Linked DNA regions of Homo sapiens: all the other regions are linked to region 4. Evidence: promoter capture Hi-C in human tissues and cell types (Jung and others, 2019). All regions are on one chromosome and are shown on one strand. Each heading gives the region's core, a stretch centred on a gene start or on the middle of the fragment in contact. The rest is flanking DNA. Distances are from core to core; before and after follow the strand shown. Region 1 has its middle 5.8 kb from the start of PEPD. Region 2 overlaps CHST8 (carbohydrate sulfotransferase 8). Region 3 overlaps CHST8 (carbohydrate sulfotransferase 8). Region 4 holds the start of CHST8 (carbohydrate sulfotransferase 8). Region 5 overlaps PEPD (peptidase D).

Region 1 (2,732 bases), core at 197-2,696, 94 kb before region 4:
ATCCTCCCGCCTCAGCCTCCTGAGTAGCTAGGACTACAGGTGTGCCCCCCCAACGCCTAGTTAATTATTTTTAATTTTGTATGTTTTGTAGAGATGGGGTCTTACTATGTTACCCAGGCTTGTCTCAAACTTCTGGCCTCAAGGCATCCTCCTGCCTCAGTCTCCCAAAGCTCAGGATTGCAAGGCATGAGCCACTGAGCCTGGCCTCAACTGTTCCTTTTAGGGACTCTGCTCAGGGTGTCATTTTAAGAAGGATGCTTGTCATTTTAGGATGGTGTCATTTCTTTTCTTTTCTTTTCTTTTTATTTTTTTTTTTTTTGAGATGGAGTTTTGCTCTTATTACCCAGGCTGGAGTGCGATGGTACAATCTCGGCTCACCACAACTTCTGCCTCCTGGGTTTAAGCAATTCTCCTGCCTCAGCCTCCGGAGTGGCTGGGATTACAAGTGCCCGCCCCCACACCTGGCTAATTTTTTGTATTTTTAGTAGAGACGGGGTTTTGCCATGTTGGCCAGGCTGGTCTCAAACTCCTGACCTCAGGTGATCCACCTGCCTCGGCCTCCCAAAGTACTGGGATTACAGGCGTGAGCCACTGCACCTGGCCAGGATGGTGTCATTTTAAGAAGCATTTCATGAAAGCACCTGCCGGTCCTTCTGTCCATGCCACCATCAAGATGAGATCACCTGTGTCTCCTCCCGCTCCATCCACTGGGATTGCTCCTGACCCCACCCCTGTCTGCACTTCCTCCTCAATGTCTTGTCTCTCCTCCAGCCTCTTCCTTCCCGTGGCTCTTTTGCTGCTCACCTGCATAACTACTTGGCTGCAGTCCCTTCTCATTCTGAGCCCCGACTCGTCAAGATTTTTCTGTAGCAAGCAGCTCCTGAGTCTCACCTCAAGTAGAAGAGGGATACATTCAAATGCTGTCCAGTTGCACAGTTGCAGGAGAGACAGACTCAGAAAACAGGCAGAGGCAGGGAGGCTGGCAGCTGAGTGCACCACCAGGCTACCCCCAGGACATGGCAGCTGGCACAGCTGCTCAGACCCTTGCCATCACTCTGCCCTTGGGCGTAACTGGGACTGATACAGTGTCCTGGCTTCACCCCCTGCATGCTCAAAGCGCTTGATGGGCAGTACAGCCAGTTGCAGTGCCCAAGTCTCATGCCCACACCTTGGCTATCATGTCCCTTTTGGCTTCTGCTGGGGGTGGGGATGTGTGTATATGGGGTGAGATGAGGTGGGGGTAGATACACAAAACCTACCCCCACAAGTAAAACCTTGAAAAGTTTAGCTTGGATAAAAGCCTGAATATTTCAATCAGAATGTCTAGAATGCAGCTATTTTCGTTTTAGCATAAGTGTGAATTTCTTGTTTGATGGTTTGGTATAATTTAAATTTTTGATTTACATGCCGGGGGACAGGATACACAATTGTCTTTCTTTTTTTGAGTGATGGGGGGACAGGGTCTCCTTCTGTCGCCCAGGCTGTAGTGCAATGCCACCATTATAGCTCAACCTTAAACTGCTGGGCTCAAGCGATCCTTCAGCCTCAGCCTCCTGAGTAGCTGGGACCACAGGCGTGTGCCGCCATCCCAGCTTATTTCCAGTGTCTTGGCTCTGGAGCTCTTACCTAGCTCTGCCTCCATGTCATTGCCAAATAAATATCCCTGAGCACAAAATGCTCGAATAGAAACTGTGTGATGGAGAAAGAAGTGCATGGACTTCAAAGCCAGAAGCCTGGGCTTGACTCCTGGCAGCTTGACGTCTCTGGTCCTCGCTTTCCCCGTTTGGAGATGAAGATGGGATGGGCTTTACCTCCCTGACAGGGCAGTTCCAAGGGGTCAGATGACCCCTTGAACACTAAGGCCCTTGGGGGCAGTTTAACATGATGCAAATGTGGTGGTAGTTACTTTCCTTATTGATACTTACTGCTCTTTTTTTGTTTTTGAGACAGGGTCTTGCACTGTCCCCCAGGCTGTAGTGCAGTGGCACAATCATTGCTCACTGCAGCCTCGACCTCCTGGGCTCAAGCAATCCTCCCACCTCAGCCTCCCAAGTAGCTGGGACTACAGGTGTGCATCACCACCCCCAGCTAATGTAAAACATGTTTTCTGTAGACATGGGGTCTCACGGTGTTGCCCAGGCTGGTCTCAAACTCCTGGGCTCAAGCAATCTTTCTACCTCAGCCTCCAAAGTGCTGGGATTACAGGCATGAGCCATCATTCCTAGCAGTACTTATTATTAGAGAACCTGGACACAGTGGTTAGGAATTGGATGTAGGAAGCTAGGTCCGATTCCTGGCACTGCTATTTACTTGCTGTGTGGCATAGGGAAAATAACCCAACCTCTCTGAGCCTCAGCATCCTCATTGGTAAAATGGGGACGATGGGTCCCAGCTGGGAGGATTGTTGAGAGGATTAGATGAATGTCACAGGAGACACTCAGCTCAGCCCCTGGCTCATGGGGGTGCTATCCTTATTTCAGTGGTCATGTGAGGGGTAGGGGCAGTGAGGAGAGACAAGCATCCTTATCTCCCAGGTGTGAAGGTGGGGGAGATGACCTGTGAGGTCACTGTAGCCCTGCTCAGCTACAGAGCGACCTTGACCGAAGGAGTGAGTCCATAACCCCAAGCCCAGGGGGCCAGTGCTTAGCCCCTTTGAGAGGACTGGCTGGGACCTGGGGTTGCCACACCACCTCAAGCAAGCAGGCTGGCAGTCCAGCCAAACACAGCAGTGC
Region 2 (2,700 bases), core at 135-2,634, 85 kb after region 4:
CCTGGGAGGACACAGAGGAGGTGGGTCTCCTGGTGGGAAGGGGATGCTAAGAATTACTTCCAGCCCCATAGGACCCCCATGAAGCCAGACCCCAAGCGGTCCATGAGCAGAGCATCTCCTGGGCTCCGCTGACCAACAGTGGCTGCACAGAGCCCCTCAGTGGCATTGTTTGGTTCAGCAGCCGGGAGCCCTGCCAGATACCTGTTCACTGTTCAGGTCAGGCAGGGGACCTGAGGGGTCGGGGAGGTGACTGGTCAGCAGAGATACAGGGAAGGCAAGGGCCAGAGAGTGGGGTTCTGGGGAGCGCACCTAATTAAAACCTCCTTCATTTACGCACAGTTACTCACATGCAAATATTTGCACCCACTGACAAGCTTCTGTTGCTGTAGCAAAGGAAGAATCAATTCAAGCAAAGCTTTCCTGCGAGTGGGCACTCTCTCCAGTATCTACCTGGAGATGCGGGTGTGGGTGCCCGTGGGTGTAAATGGAGGAGGATTTCTGACTTGGCAGCCTGCTTCCCACAGTGATGGGGTGTGGCAGGCATGGCCACCCTGGCTCCCTTTCTGCCCCCCTAGGGCACCATGGCAGCCACACTCAGCAAGGGTCCCTTTGGAGAGGGGCCTGGCCTGGCCCAGCAAGGGACTCTGCAGATTCGCCTTCCCTGCTGCCTCTGTGTCACAGCGATGTCCCCAGTACTAGGAGAGGGACCCAAGAGTCCTGAGAGCATTCAAGGAGGTGGCATCCAGGGGTGTGGTATGGGCAATGATGATGGTGTGAGCACTCAGTGCCTACTGTGTACCAGGCACTGTGTTTTACATGCTTTACCAATATCCTCATGCCAGAGCCTCGCTGTACCCGTCTCTATTTTATAGATGAAAAAACTGAAGCACAGAGAGGCAAAGTCACTTGCCCAAGGTCACACAGCCAGGAAGTATCAGTGCTTGAACTAAAACCCGGTTCCTCAGATCCCAAAAGTCTGAAGTCTTCTTGGTGACCGGACAACCACTCAGGGCTGGGAGCAAGCACCACACTATGAGATGCATGGCATTGGAGGGCCAGCCTGGGTTAGAGGTTGGGGAGCTGCACGGCACTGCCCTTCAGACTGTCAGGGCGTGCTTCATTCCTGCTCACAGCAGACATGTTCTGGTTCTTGTGCACACGTGTGTGTGTCCTGATGAAGAGTCAGGTGCCCATGTGTGTGCATGTGTGTGTGCATCTGGCCCTCACCCATAATCCTAGCTGTGTACAAGTATGTGTGCTCACCTCAGTATTACTATACACCCATGGGTGGACAGATGCCTTACGGTTCATGTGGAAAGCACTTCACCCTGAAGTCTGGGCTGGCTGCTGTGAGCGTACCCTGACAATGTCACCTGCCAGGTCATGGGGCAGGCAGGGGCAAATGACTTGGGCCCCACAGAGTGAGTTGTCTGTCGGTTGTCAGCCACAGGATTGGGTGACAAATTGCCATTCCAGCAGGCACTCAGCAAAGCCAATTATTGTAACCCCTTGCCCACGACCCGCACAGACCAAATAATGAAATTACATTCATAATATTTCAGGTCAAGTGATCGCTGCTTGAATTAGTTCCTTCCCAGAACCCAGCCAGAAGTAGCGGCAGTAATTAAAGGATTTTCTGGGCTTAAATCAACTGTGCGCGTCAAGCGTGTACAACACACAGAGCTTGCAAAATGTGTGCAGGCCTCGTCCCTTCACTGGGGAGTGAAAAGGACAGGCCATGATTGTGGGAGGACCACAGGCCGGGAGGAGGTGTGTTATTCCTGCCAGGGAAATTTTCCACTTTCACTCACTTATTTTAGAGACGTTTACTGAAAGATCCCTGCTCCAATGGGGCCTCACAGTGAGTAAGGTGATGGGGACTTTCTGGGGTCCACCCTGACTCCTCCCAAGCAGGTATTTTAGCAGTGTTGCAGGGGTAGGGTGCTGTGTTTCCCAGACTAAAGTGCAGGTCAGAGTTCACTGCAGCTTTAAACTCCTGGGCTCAAGCGATCCTCCCACCTCAGCCTCCCCAGTAGCTGGGACCACAGGCACATGCCACTGTGCCCGGCTAACTTTCCAATTTTTCTGTAGAGACAGGGTCTTGCTGTGTTGCCCAGGCTAGTCTTGAACTCCTTGCCTCAAGTGATTCTCCTGCCTTGGCCTGCCAAAGTGCTGGGATTACACGCATGAGCCACCTAGCCTGACCTAATTTTAGGATAATTCCATTGCCCCCGCCACTAAATCTTTTGTGCCCACTTCAATCACTCCCCATTTTCACCCTCAGCCCCAGGCAACTACAAATCTCCTTTTTATCACTATAGCGCTACCCTTTCTAAACATTTCATATCAATGTAATCATACACTGTGTGGTCTATCATATCTGGTTTCTTTCACTCTGCATGATGGTTTTGAGAGTCATATTTTTTGATATTTACTCATATCAGTTTGTTTCTTTTTATTGTCAAATAATATTATTCTATTACATGGAATTGCGGTTGATCTGTTCACCAGCTGCTGGATACGGGATTGTTGATACTTTTGGCCATTAGGACTAATGCTGCTATGAACATTCATGTGAAAGTTTTTATGCAAACCTATGTTTTCATTTTTCTTGGGTAAATATTTAGGAGTAGAATGGCTAGGTTGTAATAGTAAATTTACGTTAAATTTAAGGGATACTGACAAACTGTTGGCTAAAAT
Region 3 (2,700 bases), core at 162-2,661, 120 kb after region 4:
ATCTAGAAATGTCTGAGTGTTCTCCTTCCCCAAGTGTACACCTGTTTAACCAAATGGCTGTGGGTCCTGTTGGGGAAAGACTGAGAAAACATTCCCATGTGTATTTGCCATGATGCCATGGGGTTCTTCTTGGGGATGTGGTCTCTCCTTTGGTCACTGAGTTCTGGATCTGAAAACTGGGTGTATTAGTTTGCATTGTGTTTCTATAAAGGAATACCTGAGACTGGGTAATTTAAAAGAAACGAGGCTTATTTGGCTCATCATTCTGCAGGCTGTACAAGCGTGGCACCAACATCTGCTCAGCCTCAGGAAGCTTTTACTCATGGCAGAAGGCGAAGGGGTAGCAGGCATGTCACATAGCGAGAGAGGGAACAAGAGACATGCCAGACTCTTTTAAACAACCAGTTTTCATGTGAGTTGACAGAGCAAGAACTCGCTCATTACCATGGGGAGGGCAACAAGCCATTCATGATGGCTGCACCCCCATGACTGAAACACCCCACCAGACTCCACCTCTACATTGGGGATTTCATTTCAACATGAGATTTGGAGGAGACAAAACATCCAAACCATAACAGTGGGCAAAGAACTGTGCCATTTTCTTGGGACAGCTGATCACCCCTCCTTGATTTGTTTTTGTTGTATATATCGGCTTGTCGACCACCTGACTTTCTTGTTTTTTGGGATGCCATGTTTTGGTGACCACCTCCATAGCTCTCTGCAGATCAGCCCCTCTTGGCTGCTACACCAACATTGCTACTCAGTAGGACAAGTGTGCACACTTTGGTTATGATGGCTAAGTACCACCGTGTGGTTTCTGTTATTTTACAATCCTATTGTCCCCCATCAGTCTCGGGGTGTCCAGGTCTGTAGTGGCACTGCCTACATTCAGCCCTGTCCTACAGAGGAGAGGCACTGCTGGGCTTCTCACTCATGCTGGTGCTTCCTGAACTCTCTGGGCTGCAGAGGCATTCTGCCCTCTGCAATATAGGCTGGTGGCCCTCTGTTCATTGAAGACACTACAGAGATCTCTGTCCTACAACACAACATATGCCCCCTGATCCTCCTTCCCCTCTCACCAGTGTGTTCTATATTGCTTTAGAAAGGGGTGGGGGTATCTTCTAGGCAGTAGTGGATTTTCCAGCTTTCCCTAGCATGTCCACTGTAGCATAACCACCTTTGGGAGCCTTTTGATCTCTTCCTGCACTATCTACCACAGCAATTCTTTTTTTTTTTTTTTTTTTTTTTGAGACGGAGTCTCGCTGTTACCCAGGTTGGAGTGCAGTGGCGCGATCTCGGCTCACTGCAGGCTCCGCCCCCCGGGGGTTCATGCCATTCTCCTGCCTCAGCCTCCCGAGTAGCTGGGACTACAGGCGCCCACCACCTCGCCCGGCTAATTTTTTCTATTTTTAGTAGAGACGGGATTTCACCGTGTTAGCCAGGATGGTCTCGATCTCCTGACCTCGTGATCTGCCCACCTCGGCCTCCCAAAGTGCTGGGATTACAGGCGTGAGCCACTGCGCCCGGCCTACCACAGCAATTCTATCATCCCTGCTTCATTGAGTGTGGGCATTGCTTTCTGCACGTATCTGAGAGCCATCTAGCAGCATGTCTGCATCGTCTCCTGGGGTCGTTGCTGCACTGTCAGATCCTCTAACCCAAGAGAATCCTCCCTTATCAATTACTGCTCTATCCAACTTTGTGTTCTGCTTTTTTCTTTTTTTCTTTTTTTTTTTTTGAGATGGAGTCTCACTCTGTCGACCAGGCTGGAGTGCAGTGGTGCAGTCTCGGTTCACTGCAACCTCTGCCTCCCAAGCTCAAGTGACTCTCCTGCCTCAGCCTCCCAAGTAGCTGGGATTACAGGCACCTGCCACCACGCCTGGCTGATTTTTGTATTTTAGTAGAGACAGGGTTTCACCATGTTGACCAGGCTGGTCTCGAACTCCTGACCTCCGGTGATCCACCTGCCTTGGCCTCCCAAAGTGCTGGGATTACAGGCATGAGCCCCCGTGCCCAGCCTCTCTGATCTCTTGTCTACCCCGCACACCCTGCCCCAGCGTCAAGGTCTATGTGTACTCTCCTGGTTCCTGCCAATACCTGATTTCTGGATCCTTCTTTTCTTTTGGGGTATAGTTCCTTTCTTCCCTTAGCAAATCTAGCACTTCCCCAGTGGGGACATGCTGTGATTTAACCGTAGTTATTGGTCTAGTGGAGAAAAGGTGGGGGCAGATTCTGAGGAAGGCATGTGTTATGTTGCAGGACAGAGACCTCTGCGGTGTCTTCAATTAATGGAAGACCACCAGCCTGTATTGCAGAGGGTGGCGTGCTTCTGCAGCCCAGAAGATTAGAGGAAATCTGGGAATTCAAGACTTTCACAGGCATCGACCTACAGTCCCCAACGCATTTCTCAGGGTCCTGTTCCTTCTCAGCCAGGTGCCTGCCATTGCCAAGAGTCACCCTTCAGAAGCTGGATACTCTTCCTTTCTCCCCTTCATTTTTTTTTCTTTAAGAGACAGTTTTGTTCTGTCAGCCAGGTTGTAGTGCAGTGCTGCAATCATAGCTCACTGCAGCCTCGAATGAACTCTTCGGCTCAAGCAATCCTTCCACCTCAGCCTCCTGGGTAGCTGCAACCACAGGTGTGCACCACAACCCCCACCTAATTAATTAATTGATTTATTATTTATTTATTTATTTTGAGAC
Region 4 (2,700 bases), core at 21-2,520:
GATCTCTTTGTCATGCTTCTATTTATCTTCTTATCTGTCCTGGTCTATTTTTGGATGCTCTGAGCTTACCTGGGGCATTAAGGAGGCCTCATGGCCCTGGGGCTGAGGGGCTCCCTGGCCGTCCCCAGGAGTGGCTCTGCTCTCCGCCTGGTGTCCCCCACTCTGGTCAGTCAAGACCCATGGGCCCAGCTCACTCCCCAATTCCATCACTCACTCTAGGTCAGCTGGTAGGAGTCAGGCCAACCAGCCAGCAGGTACCATTAGAGAGGAGAGAGTAAGGGTCTTTCACTTTATTAAAGGCTTCTCTGCTGTTGTTTGAAAATACTGAGTGTCCCTTCAAGACTAACAGGTGACTGTGTGCACAGTTTCCTCCAGCTCCTGTGAGAAAGCAGTTGCCCCCCTTCCCAAGGCCTGCTTGTCCCCTGCAGGCTGGGGCTGCCTCTTCTTAGGAAGAACAAGGACCCGAATCCAGGGCCCCGTGTTCCTGTCCCTACTCTGTCCCGGTGCTGTGTGGCCGTGGGCCGGTTCCACCCTCCACGCTGTTTTCCCGAGTGTGTATGAAGAGGGTCGGTTGGCCCCGCTCTCAGGCTGGTGACCCGACACAAACTTCCAGGATGAAGTCCTGAAGGGAGCACCTGTTCGCAGGGCACTTTCAGCAGAATCTAGAGCCCCAGGGATTTGAGGATGGATGCGGACACCCGGGCCTGAGGCAGCTCGCGGCCTTGACCGAATTCCACGCGAGCTGAAGCCCAGGGATATCCCAGAATCTTCCTCAGGATCAATCTTCCGCCTTTCACCGGCCCTGCGCCCCCGCAGCATCGGGTCCTGGGCGCGCGCCCCTGCCCCGCTGTGGTCAAGGCCCGCCCCGGTGACGCCTGGTCCTTTTCCCGGGTTGGCGCCGCGTGCGACCCACCGAGGCAGTGGCAGCACTGGCCGCGGTCTGGAGCCTAGCGTCAGGCCGGAGTCCGGCTCTCCTGAACCGGGAGACCGGCGCAGCCCCAGCCACGACCGCTCCCACCCCCGCGGCCGCCGGACCGCGCCCAGCAGCGACTCTTTCTGAGAGCGCTGCCAGAGGGGCCGCGGGAGCCGCAGAGCGCGCGTGGGCGCGGCGCCCGCGAGCCCCCGGGAGGGCCGAGTGCATCGCTGGAGCGATCCCCGCCCGGCCCGGCCACCGCCGTAGCCGCCACCACGGCGGGGCGGGGCACGGGCCGGGGGCGGGGCGCCGGGCGGGCGCGGCGCTATTTCCAGCCTCGCCGGAGGCTTCGCTCTCACTTCGCTGGGAGCCTTCCCGGCGCGCAAGCCGGATCCGGCAGTGCTGCGGGGAGGAGAGAGGACGAGGCGGCGGCGGCAGCAGGAGGTGGGGGACCGATCGCGCCGGGGGCCGAAGAGGAACGCCGCCCCGCGCCCTCTCGCTCCCCGCACGCTCCGGCTGCCGGCCCCACGCTGCTCGCCCACAGATCGCACTGGGTTCCGCTTGGAGCGGGCGGAGGCACCGGGCCCGAGCTGGGTCGGAGGTCCTCTCCGCCGCCTGCGCGCCCCAAGCAGAGGATCCGCCGCGGAGAACCGCTCCCGGACTGGAGGCGCCCGCGGCCTCGGGTGCGTCCGCTGCGCCAGGTAAGTGGCTGCGCCCCTGCCCCACCCCTGTTCCCGCCCTGCGCAGGCTCCTGGCCTGCAGAGACGCCAGGAAGGGGTCCCGAGCGGGCCCCGGACTGCACCGCTCGCCATCCCCGCCACCGCACGCGAATGGGAGTCCGAAGCTGCGGGCGGAGGTGGGCGCGCGGGGCTCGGGTCTGGTTGCACTTTGGGGACCGGCCCCGGTAGCGGGAACTTTAATTAGACTTTCTCTCCTTGGATCTCACTCGCTGCCGCGCTTCTGGGAACTGCCGTCCCTCGGGCCCTCTTGGTCCCTGCGGACTCCCGCTCCGCCTCCTGGCCCTCGGTGCTGCCCGCGGGGAGGCGGCGTCGGGCGCTGAGCAGCGAGCGCCGAGGGCCAGGCAGGAGCGCTCGGGGCGCTGGGGCTTCCTGGCGCGCTCGGAGCCGGGGCTCCGGACGGGTTGCGGCGGGCAGAGACTATGGGGGAAGTTTAAGTGGCCTTGGCTTCCTACCCAGCGGCTCCGTCGCGCGCGTCCCCGACCCGCAACTCTCCAGGGCACCGGCCTGTGAGTGCTGGAGGCGAGTGTGCGTGCGTCAGCGATGGTGTGAAGGTGTGTGCGTGCGTGTGTCGGGAGTGCGGGAGTCGGAGCCTGGGGCGGCTCCAGGGGGCGGGGAAATGATCCGTTTGGCCGCGGGACCGAGCCGAGCTCTGACGGCGGCTGCAACTCCGGCTACCGACTCTGCAGACCCGCTCTGGCCTCGCTGGAGGCCAGCCGGGCCAGGAGGGCGATCACGGGTTTTGGCAGTGCCCGATGCTGGGGCTTGGGTCTGATGTGACCCCGATTCCTTCTCCAGTGCGGGACTCCCGCCGCCCTAACTTTCGCGTACATCTTGTCTCCAGGCCCGCGACCCCGACCCGGAGTTGAAGCGGCTGCGGCGCCCTCGGCTGTGGGCGCTGCTGCCCGGCTGTCTGTTTTAACCCAGAAGTAGGCGCCGATCCTGGGGCTCTCTGTCCTGCAGTCGTCTCCGGCGTCCCAGAGGACTCTGCGTCCCTGGGCCACTCCCGCTGGCTCAGGAGCCGTGATCAGCTCCGTTAAGGGGAACGCG
Region 5 (2,700 bases), core at 69-2,568, 120 kb before region 4:
AAGACAGTCAAGGGCAGGGTGCACATCAGAACACAGTCAGCGTCCATGGTGTCCACAACTTGGTCCTGAGGGCTCAGGGAAGGGGCACCAGTGTGGGCCAGAGTCTACAGCAGATACAGTGGCTGCTACAAGGCTGGTGCAAGGCCTCAAAAGATGGATAGGAGAAAGACAGAGAAATGGAAAACATATTCCAGGACAGCAGTACCGGGGGCAGGGCTGGGCACATGGTACTGGCCCACCTGCAGTCAAAGAGGGCTGGCCACCCCCGAGCTGGATGGGCCGGGCTGGGCCCCCACATGCTGGGCAGAGACAACTGGTCTCTCACAGCACTGTGTCTGGCCATGATCCCTGGGAACCTGCTTCTCACCCAGTGCCGTCATCTTCAACCAGGCTGTGTCCTGCCCAGGGGAAGGGGGAAGCTGCTTGGCCGCCAGAACTGGCTCCCCTGGCCACTTCCACACTGCAGCCCCGGCTCTTAGCATGGCCGACACATAATCTCTGTCTGGGGAAATGTGGCTACAGGATGGCCCTGTCCAAAGCTGATGCTGCCAGGTCCAGGTTGGACTCCCAGTGGCAGGCATTGACTTCTGGGTGCTTCACATTCTACACGGCACTGACCTGCACAGGACGTGGGGTTGTGACAGCGCCCAGGGCCAGAGCACAGAGGCCTCCTGTGTGCCAGGCAGTGGTTTAGTGTCAGGGCCTTTGGTCAAGTAGACCACAGGGGCTCCCAGCTGTGCTCTCGCCTCTGTCCCAGCCCTGCCCCACTGGCAGGAAGGAGAGCTGGAGTCGAGGAGTCAGGGCAGCCCCTTTGACCTGCCTGAACTTGGTTGGCACAGATTCAAAACCCCAAGAGGACAGCCACATGCCTACCCAGGCCACACGACACCTGCTGGACAACCCCACTGAGAAGTGGATTGAAGTCAGGGGACCTCCAATGCTACTCTACAAGCCTTTCACAGCCTCGGGCTTTTCTGACAGTGGCATCTGCAGTCAACCAGGGCTCGAGACACACGAAGACCCCGGCCCAGCCTTGTGGTGACTTAGACCGTGTGCCACCGCTGCAGGCAGGCCCGCCTCTCAGAGACACCTCATGTAATCTCAGCGGCCACAACCCAGGTCACCAGACACTTCTACCCACAGAGTCAGGGGCCTTCCCAGGCAAAGCAATGGCTCCGTAGAGAAGCCTGAGGCATGGGTTGCTGCCTACTCCTTCCAAATGGGAGCACCTGCGGCGCAGGGACTGGTGGCCAGGTGGTAGTGTCCCTGACATCCAGCAAGGTTGTGGCAGTGGAAGGAGAGGAACTCCAGGAGTGGAAGGCATGCTGGAAGCCCTGGGCTGCTCAGAGGAGGAGCCGGCTACCCACCTCATCTACGTACTGGACGTCGTCCACGGCATACTTCTCCTTGAAGTGCTCCTTGGAATGGATCCTCAAAGAAAAGCACAAGGAATATCAGGGTCAGGGCTTGGTAATGGCTCAGCATGGCCACCTTCCTGCCTGCCAAGCCCAGGCCATGGAGCCCCAGTCCCATCCCTATCACGGTCAGCACCCAGCACCCAGCACCCGGCACCGAACAGGTCGGCCCAACACACACTTGGAGGGCAAAGGCCATTAGGCCATGGAGTGACGGCTGAACCACAGCTGCTTTCCTCAGCAAGCCCCGCTCCTCCGTGACCCTAGCCACCTGCAGCCAGCCCCTGCAGACAAAACCCCTATCATCCCCTCCACTGCCAGAGACAGTCCACCAGGGCAGCCAGCCAGTGCACCCGTCCCTCTGTGGCATAAAACAATCTGCCTGCCAGGTCTTCATGGAGCATCTTTAAAGGAAAGTTTATTTTAAGGTCAGCCGCAGAATCCCAGCACTTTGGGAGGCCAAGGCAGACAGATCACAAGGTCAGGAGATCCAGACCATCCTGGCTAACACGGTGAAACCCCATCTCTACTAAAAATACAAAAAATTAGGGCGCGGTGGCGGGTGCCTGTACTCCCACCTACTCGGGAGGCTGAGGCAGGAGAGTCACTTGAACCCAGGAGGCGGAGGTTGCAGGGAGTCAAGATGGTGCCACTGCACTCCAGCCTGAGTGACAGAGCGAGACTCCATCTCAAATAATAATAATTATTATTATTACTATTTTATTTTATGTTCTAGAGACAGCATCTCGTTCTGTCACCCAGGCTGGAGTGCTGTGGCACAATCATAGCTCACTGCAGCCTCAAACTCCTGGTCTCAAGCAATCTTCCTGCCTCAGCCTCCCGAAGTGCTGGGATTATAGGCATTAGGCACTGTGCCCAGCCAAAAATTAGCATTTTTAGAAAGTCAGTATCAGTATTACTCAATGTGATGAGAAAAACTCAAGCTTATTCATTACCCCTGAAAAATCTGCCAGTGAGAAGACACAGAATGGATGAGGTTGGGCAGCCCTCGTCCACCTCCTGATGGGCCCTTTGGTCACAGCTGTGCTAGGCAGACCTCCAGCCTGGGTCCAGCAAGCCACCACCCCCAGGCTCTTGGTCAGGAGATAAGTCAATGTCTCTGTTAGTGACAGAGCTTACGCAAGGGGAAAGGAACACAAACTGCACAGGGGAGACACTGAGAGCCAAGTCCAATGACGCACACATACTCGGTCCTATGTCATCCCACACCTGGGCCCCACCTCATCACACGGGCTCTATCCCCAGCCGTGCTCCAGCCCTCCAG

What was found. The method cuts DNA at HindIII sites, captures the fragments that hold promoters and counts their contacts. A contact is called where the count stands out against the background at its distance.
Region 1: a fragment that was not itself captured here is called in contact with the fragment with the promoter of CHST8 in region 4 in 8 of the 25 tissues and cell types used here (H1 embryonic stem cells, dorsolateral prefrontal cortex, heart left ventricle and 5 more).
Region 2: a contact is called between a fragment that was not itself captured here and the fragment with the promoter of CHST8 in region 4, in 7 of the 25 tissues and cell types used here (bladder, dorsolateral prefrontal cortex, lymphoblastoid cells and 4 more).
Region 3: a contact is called between a fragment that was not itself captured here and the fragment with the promoter of CHST8 in region 4, in 2 of the 25 tissues and cell types used here (dorsolateral prefrontal cortex and small bowel).
Region 5: a fragment that was not itself captured here is called in contact with the fragment with the promoter of CHST8 in region 4 in 3 of the 25 tissues and cell types used here (dorsolateral prefrontal cortex, liver and spleen).

What each region holds. Positions count from the first base shown.
Region 1 is chr19:33,526,248-33,528,979 of GRCh38, forward strand. No RefSeq gene overlaps it. Among named protein-coding and RNA genes, the nearest start is that of PEPD, 5.8 kb to the left of the region's middle. The HindIII fragment of the contact is 5,201 bases long and covers 1-2,732 here.
Region 2 is chr19:33,705,148-33,707,847 of GRCh38, forward strand. All of the region lies in intron 3 of CHST8 (carbohydrate sulfotransferase 8), which reads left to right. Among named protein-coding and RNA genes, the nearest start is that of CHST8, 85 kb to the left of the region's middle. The HindIII fragment of the contact is 7,606 bases long and covers 1-2,700 here.
Region 3 is chr19:33,742,072-33,744,771 of GRCh38, forward strand. All of the region lies in intron 3 of CHST8 (carbohydrate sulfotransferase 8), which reads left to right. Among named protein-coding and RNA genes, the nearest start is that of KCTD15, 53 kb to the right of the region's middle. The HindIII fragment of the contact is 3,245 bases long and covers 1-2,700 here.
Region 4 is chr19:33,620,683-33,623,382 of GRCh38, forward strand. CHST8 (carbohydrate sulfotransferase 8) reads left to right here and starts at 1,271. Exons shown (of 5, transcript NM_001127895.2): 1 at 1,271-1,614. RefSeq lists an enhancer at 232-976. The HindIII fragment of the contact is 24,734 bases long and covers 1-2,700 here.
Region 5 is chr19:33,499,571-33,502,270 of GRCh38, forward strand. PEPD (peptidase D) reads right to left here. Exons shown (of 15, transcript NM_000285.4): 4 at 1,368-1,431. Among named protein-coding and RNA genes, the nearest start is that of PEPD, 21 kb to the right of the region's middle. The HindIII fragment of the contact is 5,542 bases long and covers 1-2,700 here.